Regions from separate parts of the Homo sapiens genome. Here region 2 is linked to region 1. Evidence: promoter capture Hi-C in 16 types of primary human blood cells and fetal thymus (Javierre and others, 2016). All regions are on one chromosome and are shown on one strand. Each heading gives the region's core, a stretch centred on a gene start or on the middle of the fragment in contact. The rest is flanking DNA. Distances are from core to core; before and after follow the strand shown.

The links. Contacts are between HindIII fragments. The CHiCAGO score rates a contact against its expected background, and 5 or more counts as called.
Region 2: a contact is called between a fragment that was not itself captured here and the fragment with the promoter of KCNC1 in region 1, in 1 of 17 cell types (endothelial precursors). The highest score is 5.0, in endothelial precursors.

Annotation. Positions count from the first base shown.
Region 1 is chr11:17,728,656-17,736,030 of GRCh38, reverse strand. KCNC1 (potassium voltage-gated channel subfamily C member 1) reads right to left here and starts at 1,250. Exons shown (of 4, transcript NM_001112741.2): 1 at 1-1,250. The coding sequence starts at 28. RefSeq lists a silencer at 1,311-1,410. The HindIII fragment of the contact is 3,804 bases long and covers 477-4,280 here.
Region 2 is chr11:17,924,653-17,932,027 of GRCh38, reverse strand. All of the region lies in intron 9 of SERGEF (secretion regulating guanine nucleotide exchange factor), which reads left to right. Among named protein-coding and RNA genes, the nearest start is that of SERGEF, 85 kb to the left of the region's middle. The HindIII fragment of the contact is 198 bases long and covers 3,312-3,509 here.

The sequences.
Region 1 (7,375 bases), core at 1-2,500:
TGCGCTCGCTCTCGTCCCCTTGGCCCATCGCGGCGCCCCCTTAGGCATGGCGCGGCCCAGCGACACCCATGGGAGCGGCCGCCAGGGGGAGTTGGCGCCGGGGAGGGGGGCGCGCGCCCTCTTCCCCCCTCCCCCCAGCCGTCGGGGGGAACAGAGGCCTGCGGCTCTGGCCACCCCAACGAGCGAGCCAAGCCTCTCCGGGCGCTTTGTCGGGTGCCGGTCCAGGGGAATGTGCGCGGGATCCCAGGGGTCTCTAGGAGCCAGATGTGGGAGGGAGCTGGTCCGGCAGCGGAGGAGGCAGAGGAGGAAAGAAGGGAGGGAGAAAGGGAGGGAGAAAGGGAGGGAGGGAGGGAGTGAGGGGGAAAGAGGGAGGGGGGCGGGCTCAGCAGCGAGCCCCGGGAGGTGGGGAAAATGGGTTGGGGGGCCGGGCTCCCGTCCCCATCTCCGCGGGAAAATGGAGAAATCGGCACAAAGCTTTTGGGGGAAAGGTCAGCCGCTCCCGGGGCCGGACTAGAGGCCAGCCCCCAGGAGGGGGAGGGGAGGAGACAGGGCCGGGAAATTCGCGCTCCTCTGTGAGGTGGTCGCCGCGGCGCGCTCTCGGCGCGGGGGAGATGGATGCCGCCTGCCTTCCTCCCTGCGTGGCCGGGCTGCAGCTCGGGACGCAGGGCGGGCTCCGGCCCCCTCCCTCTCTCCTTGCTTGGCTGCCTGCTCCCCCCGGCGGCGGGCCCGCCTGCCCGCCCGCCCTCCTCGTTCCTTCTCCCCGCCTCCTGGAGGAGATGGCGGGCCCCCTGGGCAGGGGCACCCGGGGTGTTGCTCGTGCGGCTAACGCCGAGCGCTGCTCTCCGTGAGCCCGGGCTCGAGCTGGGGTTCCGCTGGGCTGCGCTCGGACTTGGGCTCCCGCGGCGGTGCTGAAGGGACAGCTCCCGGCGGTCGCGGAGCTGCACGGGGCCAGGCGGGGGTTCTCCTGGCTGGGTTTGATTTGCGGGGCCGGCGGGCACTGGCTCCGGTGCCTCTGCGCCCCGCACTCCGCTCCTCGCTTCGGGCAGGCGGTGGGCGCTGCCGGCCGAGACGGGGGCTGCGGAGGTCGGGCGGGGAGGCGGGGGTGGCGGGTCCGGGCGCGGCGAGGTGAGGCCAGCGAGGCCGGTGAGGCGAGGCGCGGAGCGGCCGCTGCCGCCGCCGCCGCGACGCTGCTGCCGCCCGGGCTGCTGCTCCGCTTGCTGCTCGCCCGTCGCCTGCTCGTTCGCGCGGTCCGCGTCCAGCCCGCCGCTCTCCGGACACGGGCACACGGCGCGCGCAGCCGCACTCGCCCCCGGAGGAAGGCGCCGCGCTGGGTCCTAAAAAGCCCTGATTCCGCGCCCCCCTCCCAGCCCCGCACCGAGCCCGGCCTCCCTCAACCTCGGCGCTGGGGGCGCCCGCCCCGCGCGGCTCCTGCTGCTCCCGGGGGACCCGCCCACGGTCCGCCCTCGGGGAACGCCACTCCAGGGGCGGGGGCTCCGAGAGACGTCTGGGCCCGCGCCCCCGGGTCAGACTGAGGTGAGAAGGGCGTTGGCACCCTCCCCTTGCCTTCCAAACCAGGGACCATCTGATCCCTGGTGAGACAAAGCTCTCCCGGAGTTTTGTCATCAGAGACACCCTGGCCCGGACCAGTGCTGACCGCTCCAAGGAATCCTTTAATACCGACCCTTCTCGCGGAACCTGGAGGCCCCATGTTCCTTCCATGGGTAATGTCTTGCATGAACCCCAACACACACACACACACACACACACCACGTTATCCTCTACGCCCTCCACTAACAATCAATCCTGGACCCCTATTAACCCCTTTGGACTCCTTACTGACCCTGGGCCCTTTATAGCTTCAGACAGAGGGAGTCTCCCATGAGTGCCACATCCATCCAAGCTCACGGACTCTCCCACACTAACCCTGGATCCCTAGGTGGAGACCCCTTATGAAAAGGACCTTCTGCCCTCAGAGGTCAGAAGCAGCAACTGCTCGTAGTTTCCCTGAGCACTGACACCCCCACCCCGCACTTCCTAGGGCTTCAACTGCCCTGGGTGATAAGCTGGTGTTATGTCTGGGAGCTGGGTGGGAGCTGCTGCTTGCTGTGATTCCTCCATCTTCACAGTTGGTCCTGGGGGTGGGAGTTCCAGTTTGAACCTCAAAGCCTTCCTGGCCCATGCCTGCTGCTAGTGCCTTGGTTTACTCAGTAAAGCAATCACTCCTTTACTCCTTACTTGTTTCAGGATCCGTCCCAGGCACAAGGACACAAGAGATGAATCTGACCCAGCCTCTGGCCTTGAGAAGCTCCCAGCCTTCTGGGGAGGTGGCCAGGTGGGCCTAGGCAGGACTGGGGAGGTCAGGCCCGTCTCCAGGGGTGGCTGGGGTGGGAAAGAGGCTTATTGATCCCAGCTCAACCCAATCGAACACAGGATGCCTGGGCAAAGGGCGATTTAATTAAGAAGATATGAGGCTTTTATTACTGCTGGCACTTTCTAACTGTGCAGACAGCTGTCCCTCTACCCTGACCCACAGATGCCGTTGTGAGCCTGGGGACAAAGCTGTGCCACAGACATCGCTCTCCTTACTTGGCCAGGGGAATCCCAATCTAGCCACAGGAAAATCTGTGTGTGGTGGGTAAAAGGCTTGAAGGGGTGGAGAGGGGCAGGGCAAGGATTGACAGATGGGAATAGGACAAGGGGAGAGACAGAGAGGCTAAATTAAGTCAGAAATGGGCAGAGTTGGGCAGAGACAAAGAGAGGGTTGGATTTTGGGGCCTGCATGGCACCTCCTCCCTCCAGATATTGATCTGTGTGATTCCTCTAAATAGGAGCTGTTTCCCCTTCAATCTCAGAGTAATGCAGGGATGAGAGTGATTTTGAGTGTCCCTTTCACCCTGACCAGTGTGAGTCCCCATCTCCTAACCACAAGGAAGCCTGGCCTGGTGTGGCCCGGCCTGGTGTGGCCCATCCTGGCCCATATTCAGATCCCCGGGACATGGGTTCTCAGGAAATTCTGTCCCAACATTGGTAGAAGATGAAATAGAAATGGAGAATCCAGAAGGAAGAGAAAAAGGTGGACACAGAGGCAGACACATACACACACACACACACACACACACACACACACACACACACACACACACAGCTGGGAGAAATCAAGATGGGGAGAGACAAGAAAGCAGCCTCTCCAAACCTTCCTTTCTTTCTACCCAGATGTCCAGCCCCTCTTCTCACCCAAGAATCTTCTGGGATTCTACTAGCCATAGGGTTCCAGGACTTCACCTCTCTCTTCACCTGCAGAACCACACGGGATCAGAGTATGGCTCCTGATCTTCTCCATAGCTCATCTGATCTCCATAAAAGGACCATCAGCTCCTCCAGGGCTTCTTGTTTGCTTCCCTCCAGAGTGCCCAGAATACAGTAGATCCTCACTAAGGTCCAGATGATTTGAGAAAGGCTAGGAGAGAGGCTGGGATCCTAGAACCCAAGTGGCAGAGACTGTGGGAGTCTGGAACACCTAATGGAGACCAAGTCAGGAGGAGGGACTTACCCAGGGTTTTTTAGGGAATCAGTGCAGGGCCCCATCACTACGCCATGGCGAGTCCTAATAGGGGGCTGCAGTGTGACCCAGGCAGTTGGGGAGGGGGCACAGAGAGACAGAGAGAAACAAGGGGCTCCTGGTAGGCAGAAGGTTGGGTGATTAGGGGCTCTGGACGATGTGTTAGAAAGAGGGAGGTAGGCCAGGGTTGGAGGCAGAAGGAATGTGAAAGGGTATTCATTGCACCCTAAAGCCCATTACACCCTAAAATCCCCCAAGAGGTAAGCAGAGAAAACTCAGACACAGGAGCCTCCCCAGCAGGAGAGGGTAGCTGTTCCCAATGTGCCCCACACTGTTCCACTTTAGGATTCTCACTTTGATCCCTGATGACACACCCCCAGCCCAGGCCCCAAAGAATGGCCTCCCTTGTGGATCCTGAACAGGACATCAAACTTTCTTCTCTCACTTCCCCTTCACACTGCGAGAATGCTAGCATTTGCAAACAGCCTAGGAAAACCAAGAGGGCAACACAGAAGAAATCAACAAAAACCAAAAACCAGAAAACAGAGAAACAGAGGGTTTTGGGGGGAAATAGGAGGAAGAATGACTAACCATTCCCTAGCTTCTCACTCGCAAACACTAACGACAGACCCCCAGCTAGACTGAAAACCTCACTCCTTTTCCACTTTGGAGCAGCACCTCCTATTCGCAGCCATTTGCCCCTCCCTTGCAGAAGAAAGCTTGTGGTCTGGTGCCAGAGGGTCTTTGGTAGCTGGGGCTGGTGGGGGTGGGAGCAGTTGTGGTGTGGTATGTTCAGTGGCTAAGAGCACAGACTTTAAAACCAGACTGCCTGGATTCAAATCCCAGCTCCAGTACTGACTAGCTGTGACCTTGGGCAAGTTACTCAACTTCTCTGTGCCTCGTTTTTTGCTTTTACTGTTGTATTGAAATAATAATAATAACTCCTGTATCCTTAACATCTAAGTTCTAGAATTTCTCTTGTTTAGGCCCAAGGAGGGATTGCTGGGCTTCAGTAAGCTTCATGTAGGAAAGGCTAGAATATAAGCTGGTGTTGGGAGTGGACTAAAAAAAAGGTGAAGGGAGTTCTGAAGCCAAGTTTGGCCTATGTTTTCCCACCTGGCACTTGCAGGCCTTAGATCTGGTCCTGCTAAGCTCTGGAACTGGCCCAAGTCCAGCCCCTAGGCTTTTGTCCAGGTTGGCACATCCTCCATGCTGCTCTCCCAGGCCCAGAGCCTCAGCCCTCCTGGTGGGCTGGGGTGCCATCTTGTGGCCATGGCTGGGAACTAACCTAAGCTGGGTATTGACCGAGAAGGCTTTGAGGATAGTAACCCTGCTCTGATGGTAAGCCGTGGGGGTGGCAGACATCCCCTCCCTAGACCATACCGCCTGCCTCCAATGGTCAGGGAAGATTGAATCCAGAGATGCCGTAGTGGGAAATTGGCGACCTTGGCCACAGATCTGTAGGTTGAGCAGTGACCCTGGTAACCTGGGCTGAGCTGCAGCGAGGTATACAGCTAGCTGTTCCTTCTTGGAAACTCTGGGGCAGGGGCACCAACATGGCTTAGGCCATGGGAAGTCCAGAAAGGGGCCAAGGTGAAGAATACTCTTGGAAGGTGTCTAGACCAGGGTTTCTCAACTTCTGCACTGTTGACATCTTGGCTCAGATGTAATCCTTTGCCAGGGTTGGGGCCGGGTGCTGTACTGTGCATTGCAGGATATTTAGCAGGCCTCTGTCCACTAGGTGTCGGTAGAAGCCTCTTCCCTAGCAGTGATCACCAAAAAGGTCTACAGACACTGCCAAATGTACCCTGGGAGGTAAAATTTCTTCCGGTTGAGAGAACCACTGATGTAGACAGACTTGGTTACAAATCCCATTTTTGCTATTCACTAGCTGCGTCAACTAGTCCCATTCCCTCTCTAGGCTTCTATTTCCTCATTATCCATAAAGGGACCAATGTCTGGTAAGGATTAAATGACATGGTACCTCATTTCCTCTTCTTCCCTTTTCTCCCTTCCCTCGGGCTCCCTAGCCCACTTCTCATCCCTCTGTGACCAGCCCTTACACCCCCTCCCCCTCATGGACTCCTACCATCCTTCAGCAATGTCCCTTAGGGTGTCAGTGTGGCCCTGGGGACAGAGCATTAGCCCTCCCTGGGCCTGGATGCCTCTCCCTGCAGGCTGTGGGAGGGAGGTGCGGAAGTGTGAGATGAGATGATGGCTGTGGTGAACATGGTCAGGTGTGCATATATGTAAGGAGGCTGGGTGGGTACAGGCCCTCCTGCAAGCATGTTCACAGCAGGACTGTGCAGAGGACACTGAGTTCTCCTCCCAGAAGCAGCTGGAGACTCGTGGCTACCCTAAAGGTCTTCCCTCTGCGGCTCCTCTGATAGGGAGAGCCTGGCAAGTTCTCTTGTATGTACACCTGTGGATGTGTCAGCCTGCAGGTGAGCATGGTCAGTATGCAGAGGTGGGTCCAGGGTGTGTAGGGCCTGAAGCCTGGAAGTTTTGGGGGTCACTCTTTTAAAAAAAGAAAGCAAAAAAGAATACAAAGTTGGATACAAAAGTGAATATTTATTTAGACTTAGAAAAGGACTCAAGACCAAATATAAATTTTAAGAAGCTGACATATACTACAAATATTTAAAAATACAGAAAAAAGCTTCATATTTTTATTAACTGCACGGCACACCTATATAATGATTTAAAATAAGTTACATTTATTTGGAAGCATTCAGTATGCCAACAAAAACAGATGCAACTTTTTTTGCAATTACAGAATAATATTTAGTTAATACATTTATTTTACATAAGCTACATCGAAGATGACTGGAAATTAAAAAATCATCACCTTCCCTCCAATATAACTATTTTTTTCTGTGTACTAACAAGACCCTGCTTTACATTTCTATGCCAATTTATAGGTCCCGGGTAGTACCAGGCACAGTTAGTAGCTACTGAAAACACCTCCTGGACAGGACTACTTAAAGATACATTATGAAATGCAAGGGACCCAGAAAACTCACAACAGTATTGAAGAAGGAGAGTAAAGCTGGAGGACTCACGCTTCCCAATTTCAAAACTAACTACCACACTACAATAATCAAGACTGTGTGGTATTGGCATAAGGATAGATAGATAGATCAATGGAATAGAATTGAGAGTACAGAAATAAACTCATATATTTATGGTCAATTAATTTTTGACAAGAGTGCCAAGACAATTCAATGGAGAAAGAATCGTCATTTCAATAAATGATGCTGAAACAACTATATATTCATACGCAAAAGAATGAATTTGGATCCCATACTTACACCATATTAAAAATTTTAAATGGACCAAATTCCTAAATGTTAGGGCCAAAGTCATATAACTCTTAGAAGAACTTGAAGTAAGTAATCGTTTCTTAGATGTGATGTCAAAACCATAAGCAAAAAAAAAAAAAAAAAAAAGGAACAGGTAGATAACTTGGATCTTGGATCTCATCAAAATAAAATAGACATTTGTGCTTCAAAGGAAGTGAAAAGAATTCGCAGAATGGGAGATATAATTGCAAATCCTATATCTGATAAGAGTCTGATATCTAGATTAGATAAAGAACTCTCATAACTCAATGTATTAGTCCATTCTCACACTGCTATGAAGAAATACCCAAGACTGGGTAATTTATAAAGGAAAGAGGTTTAATTGACTCACTGTTCCACATTGCTGAGGAGGCCTCAGGAAACTTACAATCATGGCAGAAGGCAAAGGAGAAGCAGGCACCTTCTTCACAGGGTGGCAGGATGTAGTGAATGGAAGCAGGGGAAACATCAGACA
Region 2 (7,375 bases), core at 2,161-4,660, 190 kb before region 1:
AAACCTGTTCTTACCCAGTTTTATTGCTTTTCTCTTAGGTTTAATTGAAAGCTTAGTTTTCTACTGTTTTTACTGCAAACATGCAGCAGTTTGGATGCTTTAGGGCAGTGACTCTCAAACCTCAGCATGCATCAGAATCACTTGGAGGACTTGTTAAAACACAGATTGCTGGGCGTCACTCCCAGAGTTTCTGATTCAGTAGGTCTGGGAAGGAGCCTGAGAATTTGGTTTCTAACAAGTTCCCAGGTGGTGTTGATACTTAAGGTCTGGGACTATGCTTTGAGAACCACAGCCCCAGTATTAAGTGGTCTTTTATAATGCAGATATTGGGTGATGTTTTGCAGTCCATTCTTTGGCCTAAGTGCTCACAGAAGTCACCTTGTGGCATATGGACTGGGTTCTAGTTTGCCACTTTTTCTTTCACAGCTGGGACCACTTGACCTTTAGGCTGAGACTTTGTCTAAGGACAGTAATTGTGTCTTATTACTGTGGTTCTCCAGCCCTAAGAAGAATGGGTAGGACATATTAAATGGCATTTAGTGAATGTTGGGTATGTGTTTGGATGGAGGTGGTTAGTATTGCAAGGCAGCAGGCCCAGGACATTTGAGTATTATTTGCAGTGTTTCTGTAAGAAAAAGGTTCTGGGTTATGAATGGGCTACCTTACTGTGTGTGGCATTACATGTTTGTGAAGTAGGCATTATATTTTTGCCCCCATGTTCTTTCTGATAGTAGTATGATTTTTATTGCAGGTCAGCAATTCATTATAGATATTGCTGTTATTACAATGGAAACAAAGGAGAAAATTGTTTTCTGGGTAAATTTCATTTGGCAGTTATATTGATTAGTCTTTCTAATACTCTACCTAATCTTATTTAAAATAAGAAAGAATACCTGAAATACAGAAGCAAGTGACAAATAAATGATAGCTGTTTCAGGGAGTGCCTGTGATGATATTATCTAGTAAATTGCAAATGCAGAAGGAACAGGTGCAGTGCTGAATTGGGAGACTAAATAGGCTCAGGAAATACCATATTAGCTCTTCCTTATGACCATTTTTTCTGCAGTGTAATTGAGAGCAGTGTAGCAGACGTCAGCTCAGTGGTGTGCGTGATTGAAGAGTTCTCCTTTTGCCTGCTGATTACAGCTGACTGACATGCAGCTAGCATCTCAGATCTTTCTCACTGTAAGGGCCCTTAGACACTATCCTAGTCTAATCCCTTCGATTTACAGATGGTGAAATGAGACCTGAATAAGGGAAACTCTTGTCCCAAATCACACATCCAGTAGGTGGCAGAGTTTGGACTTGAACCCTGTCATCTGATTCTAGGTGTAGTCCTCCTGTTGTGCTGTGTTGCCTTTAACCTCACTGGTCTAACTAAGCTTACTTGTAGACCTTTGGATTCCATTAAGTTACCTATGGACAGCATAGATGGGGAAGGGAGTTTTGTATGCTTTTGTCTAAATGCTTCAAAAGCCAAAAGGAATGGGCTCAGTCTCTGCCATCTTCTCCCCATGGCTGCAGCCATTGGATCCTCCATCTGTAGGCTTAGTCGTGGGCCTAGTATTGTACCTTGGTCAGACACACTGAAGGAGCTCAAGTTCAAAGCTTGGGAGTCAGTAAGATGTCATCTGGGATGCTATCTTTGACCTTCCCTTATTCCTGTGCCTGAATCCTGTTTTGATAAGTTCTGATAGAATTGGGGCCCTGCCTTGGTGTTGTCAACTCTTTCGTAACTATAGGCAAGTTGGGAAGTGGGTAGGAGGATAACATTTGTTGAGCATCTATTTTGTGCCAGTTACTTTACCCACATCATGTTATTTAATCTTCACTACATCTCTATGAAGTTTTGTCTGTGTTTCACACATGAGGAACTAAGGCTCAGAGAGATTATGGGACTTGCTTAAGGTAACCTAGCTAATGAGTGGTACAGCTGGGGTTCAGATTTGGGTCTGTTGAGCTCCAAATCCTGCACTTATTCCGCTATATCTCTCAGAGCCTGTAGCTTGGCTATAAATCCCAGTTTGTTCATTTGTTCAGTGAATATGTATCGAATCCTACTATATTCTAGCCTCTGTGCTCGTAACTGGAGAGGCAGTCCCCGCTCACATGGAGCTTACCATCTATCTGAGACTATAAAGTAATGATGGATGTGTAGAATGTTAAAAAGGAAATGCTGTAGGAATATAGAGCAGACAAGCCTAATCTAGTCCAGGGTGGGATGGGGGAATAAATCAGGCAAGACCTCTTGGAAGAGGAAACATTTACACAGAGAACTGTGTTGAAGCATGAAACAACCTTGCAAAAGACCTGAAGGAAGGCTAGAGTGGCAGGAACATAGTAAGCAGTAGTAGGCTGATGTTCTGCTGCCTGCCTGCCTAGCACAGCGCCTGGCATATAATGGGAACCCACAAATGTTTGCTGAACAAATGCATGAATGGCTAAAACAATGAATGAATGGCAATGCTGAAAGCTCATTTTGCTTGTTATATAAAAACATAATAAGTTACCTTGGGATGATTCATAGTTCCAAACAGCTTTTTCCTCCAGCTCCTCTTGTCTTTCTGTTGTTTTGGGTTTCCTTGCTATATTTTGAATGTCCACACACGTGTCCTGCCTTTCCTTCACAGCCATGGGGTGTCTTCCTGTCTCAAAGAGAGCAAAAACTGAGCTGCCCTATTATCCTCTTAGTGGCTGCCTTGAGCATGAAGTTTGAAATAGCGTCAGTGATTTGATTTTTTCCTCTGGGGATCTGGCAATTGAAAATAAATGTAGAAAGAGCCCCAAAGGAGTTTTTTCTTGGGGGCATGAGAGATGACAGCACCAGTTATTGGTGCACTTTGACAATGCCGAGTTATGTAAGTGGATGAAAAATAAAGGCTATTCCACCAAAGTCAGCTTGCCTTACTTAAGTGATTTTATATTCACAAAAGTGGGTGGTCCAAAGTGTTCTGTAATTCTGCTATTTGCAAAATTCCTAGTTTATGACATAGAGAAATAGAATTCTATAGATTGAGTTTCAACAAATGTTAATGTAGATGATGATTATGTGTTAGGTACTTTCACATTGCATTTAATAACTAAAATATAAATAGCATCTAGTTTCTAGAAAAGAATTTCTTGCCTGGAAATTCTGGTAAGAGTAGCATAAAACATTACAAAACCTGGAAAAGGTTAGAATAGCCTGTTTGTTAGCATACCTTGGTCCAGAAAAAAATGCCAAGCTAGTTTGAGTCCCTTTTTTTTTCAGGTTTAAATCTCCTAGACCCCTTGGGGTCTTCTGTTCTGGCTTTTGGACTGAGGAGTAAGCTTAGTTCACGAGTTTGAAGGGTAGTCTCGACTGACACTGATGAAACCAAGCGAATGATCTTTGGTCCTTGTTTCTTTATTGTTTTTTTTTCATTGGTTGGTTCGTTCATTCATTCACTCATAAAACATTTGTTGAATGACTTCTATGTGCAGGCCACTATAGCTAGAGACAAGTTTTACAGTCCTGTCCTCACAAAGCTTGCAGTCTGTGGGAGAGACAGATAAGAAGTCAGAAACTGGCTTCTCCCTGGATTTGGAAGCGGGAGTCTTCACCACTAAATATTCAGTCTGTGCTGGTTCCACTCTGCTTCTCCCTTTTTTCCCTTTCTCCTCCATGGACTGACTCTGTGGGTCTGTGACCCCAGAGTTTGTAGCCCTCTCTCACCTTTGCCATACTGTCTAGGCTCAGACAGTGTTCCTTTCAATGTGGTCTTGTCTGTGAGATTCCAACTGAGACTGAAGTTCTGTAGGTGAGGACCAGTCAGGAGACAGGTGAGGCCGGGAGAAATGCTGTGGTTACAGAGGTGACCTCCTTGCTGATTTTAGAGCTTCTGTTCATGCCTGCTGGCAGCATGCCAGTACAGAAGGAGCTTTGGATTCACTAATGCTTGGTTCATGGTTAGACTTCCGTGCATAATTAGTATTTTTAAAGTCATTTTATCTAAAGACTTCAAATTTAGAGACTCTAAGTACTTGAGAGACATTTTATGGATTGCAGCTGAGTTTAAAAGGATCTTGCAGCATTTTCTCCTCAGCCCTTACTACTAGCCAGCTGCTTCTAATCACATTCAGTAAAGTCCTGTGACAGACTCTTTCTTCTTCCAGCTTCTTGCAGAAGATGTCATGCCCCAGGTCGGCCTGGATCTTCCTGAGAAGCTGCACAACAGTGTTTCTCAAATTTCAATGTGTGTGCAATCACTTGGGGATCTTGTTAAAATGTAGAAGATTCTAGCTCTGTAGGTCTGAGTCAGTAGGGCTACTTTCCACTTCTAACAGGTTCCCAGATGATTTCAATTCTGTGTTCTGAGTAGCAAGGAAATTGCTAAATGTCAGGCATAGACGGGGCTTTATAAATGGATCATCACATCTGAGACTGTGACTTTACAAAGGAGGACACAGAAATCCAAAGAAGGAGAGTGACTTGCCTGAGGTCACACAGCAAATTAGTGGAAGAGACCAGGACCAACACTCAGGTCATCATTTTCCTTCTGTGTTGTATGTGTGCTTTTCCTCTGCTGATCTAGCAATGTAAAGAAGCAGAAATAAGGTTTCCTACTTGCATTTTCATGTTTACAGCAGCCTCACAGAACCAAAATCGGGTATGTTGGTAGTCTAGACTTGCCTGAAGCCCTTCTTTCTTAGGTTTTAGTGAGGCATTTACCACGGGATCTTAAGCAGAGCCTCTCTATGACACCAGGCTTTGTGTTCAGTAGTGCTTGTTGAACAGGACTTGAGTCCCTTCCACACTGGACAAGGGGAAGTGGGTGGTGCCAAAAATTGCCAGATGGCCCCAAATGAGTCTCTAGTGTGGGTTAACCCTCATAATCCAGGAGCAAAAGGTGTGTCTGGGACACTGAAGCAGCCTTCAGACTTCAGAATTTGCTTAGCACTCTTTCTTTTAGGATGTGCTAAGTGGCAAAGAGGGCATACCGGGAATAGAGTAGGTATGTTTGACCCAGAGACCCTGTCAGGGGCCTGGAGTTGGAACAACAAAGCAGCCAAAGAACATGGTGACAGGCGATGGTTGGTTTATCCGTCAAAGAGGTCCTGTGAGTTGGGGAGGGGCATAGGAGCAGACAGTCTGCAGTGATCTAGACCAGTGGGTAACCTTTTCATTCTATAAATATTTGTTGTGTGCCCATTACATGCCAGATACTGAACTGCACAGTGGGAGATGTGGAGATGAATTCCTAGAGCTCTGGTCTCAGGAGGCCCTCCAGGTGGATTCTGCATCAAGATAGTCTTTTGGAGTAATAGCAAGGTAGGACTCTGGTCTTGGTGAAACGGTTTATTAGGTGGGGATTCAGATAGAGGAAACAATCAATTCAGGGTCACACTTGCTGAACCTCTGGCATAAAGGAGGGCATGGTTTCTAGAATAAGGCAGATACCCAGTGATGGAAACCAAGGAACAAGATCAGGGCAGGAATGGGCAGCACACTGAGGCTGCTTCTGAGCTGCTAACCTCTGAAACTTGAAATCTTTCCTGATAGAAGACAGGGGTACGCTGGAGTAAAGGTCACCTGGTGTGGACGTGGAGCCAGGCACTCTGATACTGGAAAGACTTAGCCATGCAGGTTTTCCATCTGTTTACCTGTCTCTCCCTGCCTCTGGCCCTGCTTGTGAGAACTGTCTTCTTCTGTGGTTGTGGAGGGTAAGATTCTGGAAGCTTCTTAGGATCAGGCCCTCTAGGGTAGCAGAGGTGGCAGAGGCTCCTCTCCCCATCATCATTTGTACTAACATGTCTCAGGGCCTCTTAGGGCTGAGATGTCGTTAGATATCTCCTGATGGAGGCAAGTGACTAATGCCCCAATTGGGAAAAAAAAACTGGGTGAATGAGAGGTTGGCTTGAGACCATAGACCTGTCTGCATTTGAAACTGACATCTAATGACTGAGCTGGAAGGGGTGGAATATTGGTAATAACATTAACAGTTGAAGGGAAACAATGCCTAATACCTAGTAGGCTCTCAGTGAATATTTATTGACTGAGTAGGTATTAGCAAAGTGCTTTATAGTTTTCAAAATATATTGTTTCCCCCAGACTCTGTGAGACAGGCAGAGCATTATACTCATTTGATAGTAAGGCAGCTGAGGCTCAAGATGTTACATATTTTGCCCAAGATCACACAGCTGGTAAATGGTACAGCTGACACTGGAATTCAGGTCTTTTGAGTCTTATTCTAATGTCCTGTCTTTGAAGACACTTCCAAAAATGCAGACAGATACTGCCAGGGATCTTGCTATTGTACATTTAATTTTTGGTATCTATTAAACAGATATGGTTTTTTTAATGCAAAACATTTTTGTAAGATGGAAATGTGCCTCCCTGTGTGCATTTTTACCAAATTGAGCCCTTGGGTCTCTTTATTTTTAATAAGGAGGAAACACTAGGGTCTGGAACAGCTGAACCAAGCACCATTGCTGCCTACTCATTAGCTCTTTCTGTCTAATTAGATTGAAAGCAAGGAAAGAAGCAGAAAAGGCAACTATTTTGTGTTTAGCAGAAGTGGTCATGTATGGTCTTGAACACTCCCTCCCCCTTTTTCACCCTTCTTTTCTTCTTCTCTTCCTTCCTTTGCCCTCCAGAAGGCTTCTAGAATGCAGTCCCTTTCACCCTGCAGTAGCGTATTTCTTCTGCCATGAGTGGTGTCTTTGTGATGTGTGTGACAGACAGATGGACTTCTGGGACCTTAGAGACTTGGTGGGTTACTGTATCTCTTTCGTGGTGCCCTTGTGATGTGTGTGACAGACAGATGGACTTCTGGGACCTTAGAGACTTGGTGGGTTACTGTATCTCTTTCGTGGTGCCCAGTGGCCTAGTCATGTAGAGCAAAGAGGCTATTGTTTTTTCTTTAAGAACAAATTAAATACAAAGCATTTCTCTGAAGTACAAGGAGGACCTTGGGTTCCTGTAAATGGCTTAAAAAACAAAAGAAAAAAAAGAGTACACCTGAAAGATTTTGTCGGTGGAACTCCATCCCCAAGTTTGCATGTGAATAAAAAATTGCTGGCCGGGATCCCAGGCCTGTTTGTAGATGGTTTCATCTAACCATCAGTGGTGACTGTGACCTCTGGGCCTGTTCATGCGGTCAAAGTTTTCAGCTGGAATTTTCCATATTCATGCTCCTCTATTGCACAAATTGTAAGACAGCAAACATGGAAGGAAGGTGATTTATTACAACTCATAGACCTACACTTTATGTGAAGAAGTCTTGGGGAATGCCAAGGGCCAGTTGCAATTTTTCTGAGACTCAGTTTCTACCTAACTTCTTGAGCTGGCCAGCTTCACTTTCCCCCTCTCTCCACCCCATCTCCATTCTTTTCTTCTCAACCCAAATCACCCCCC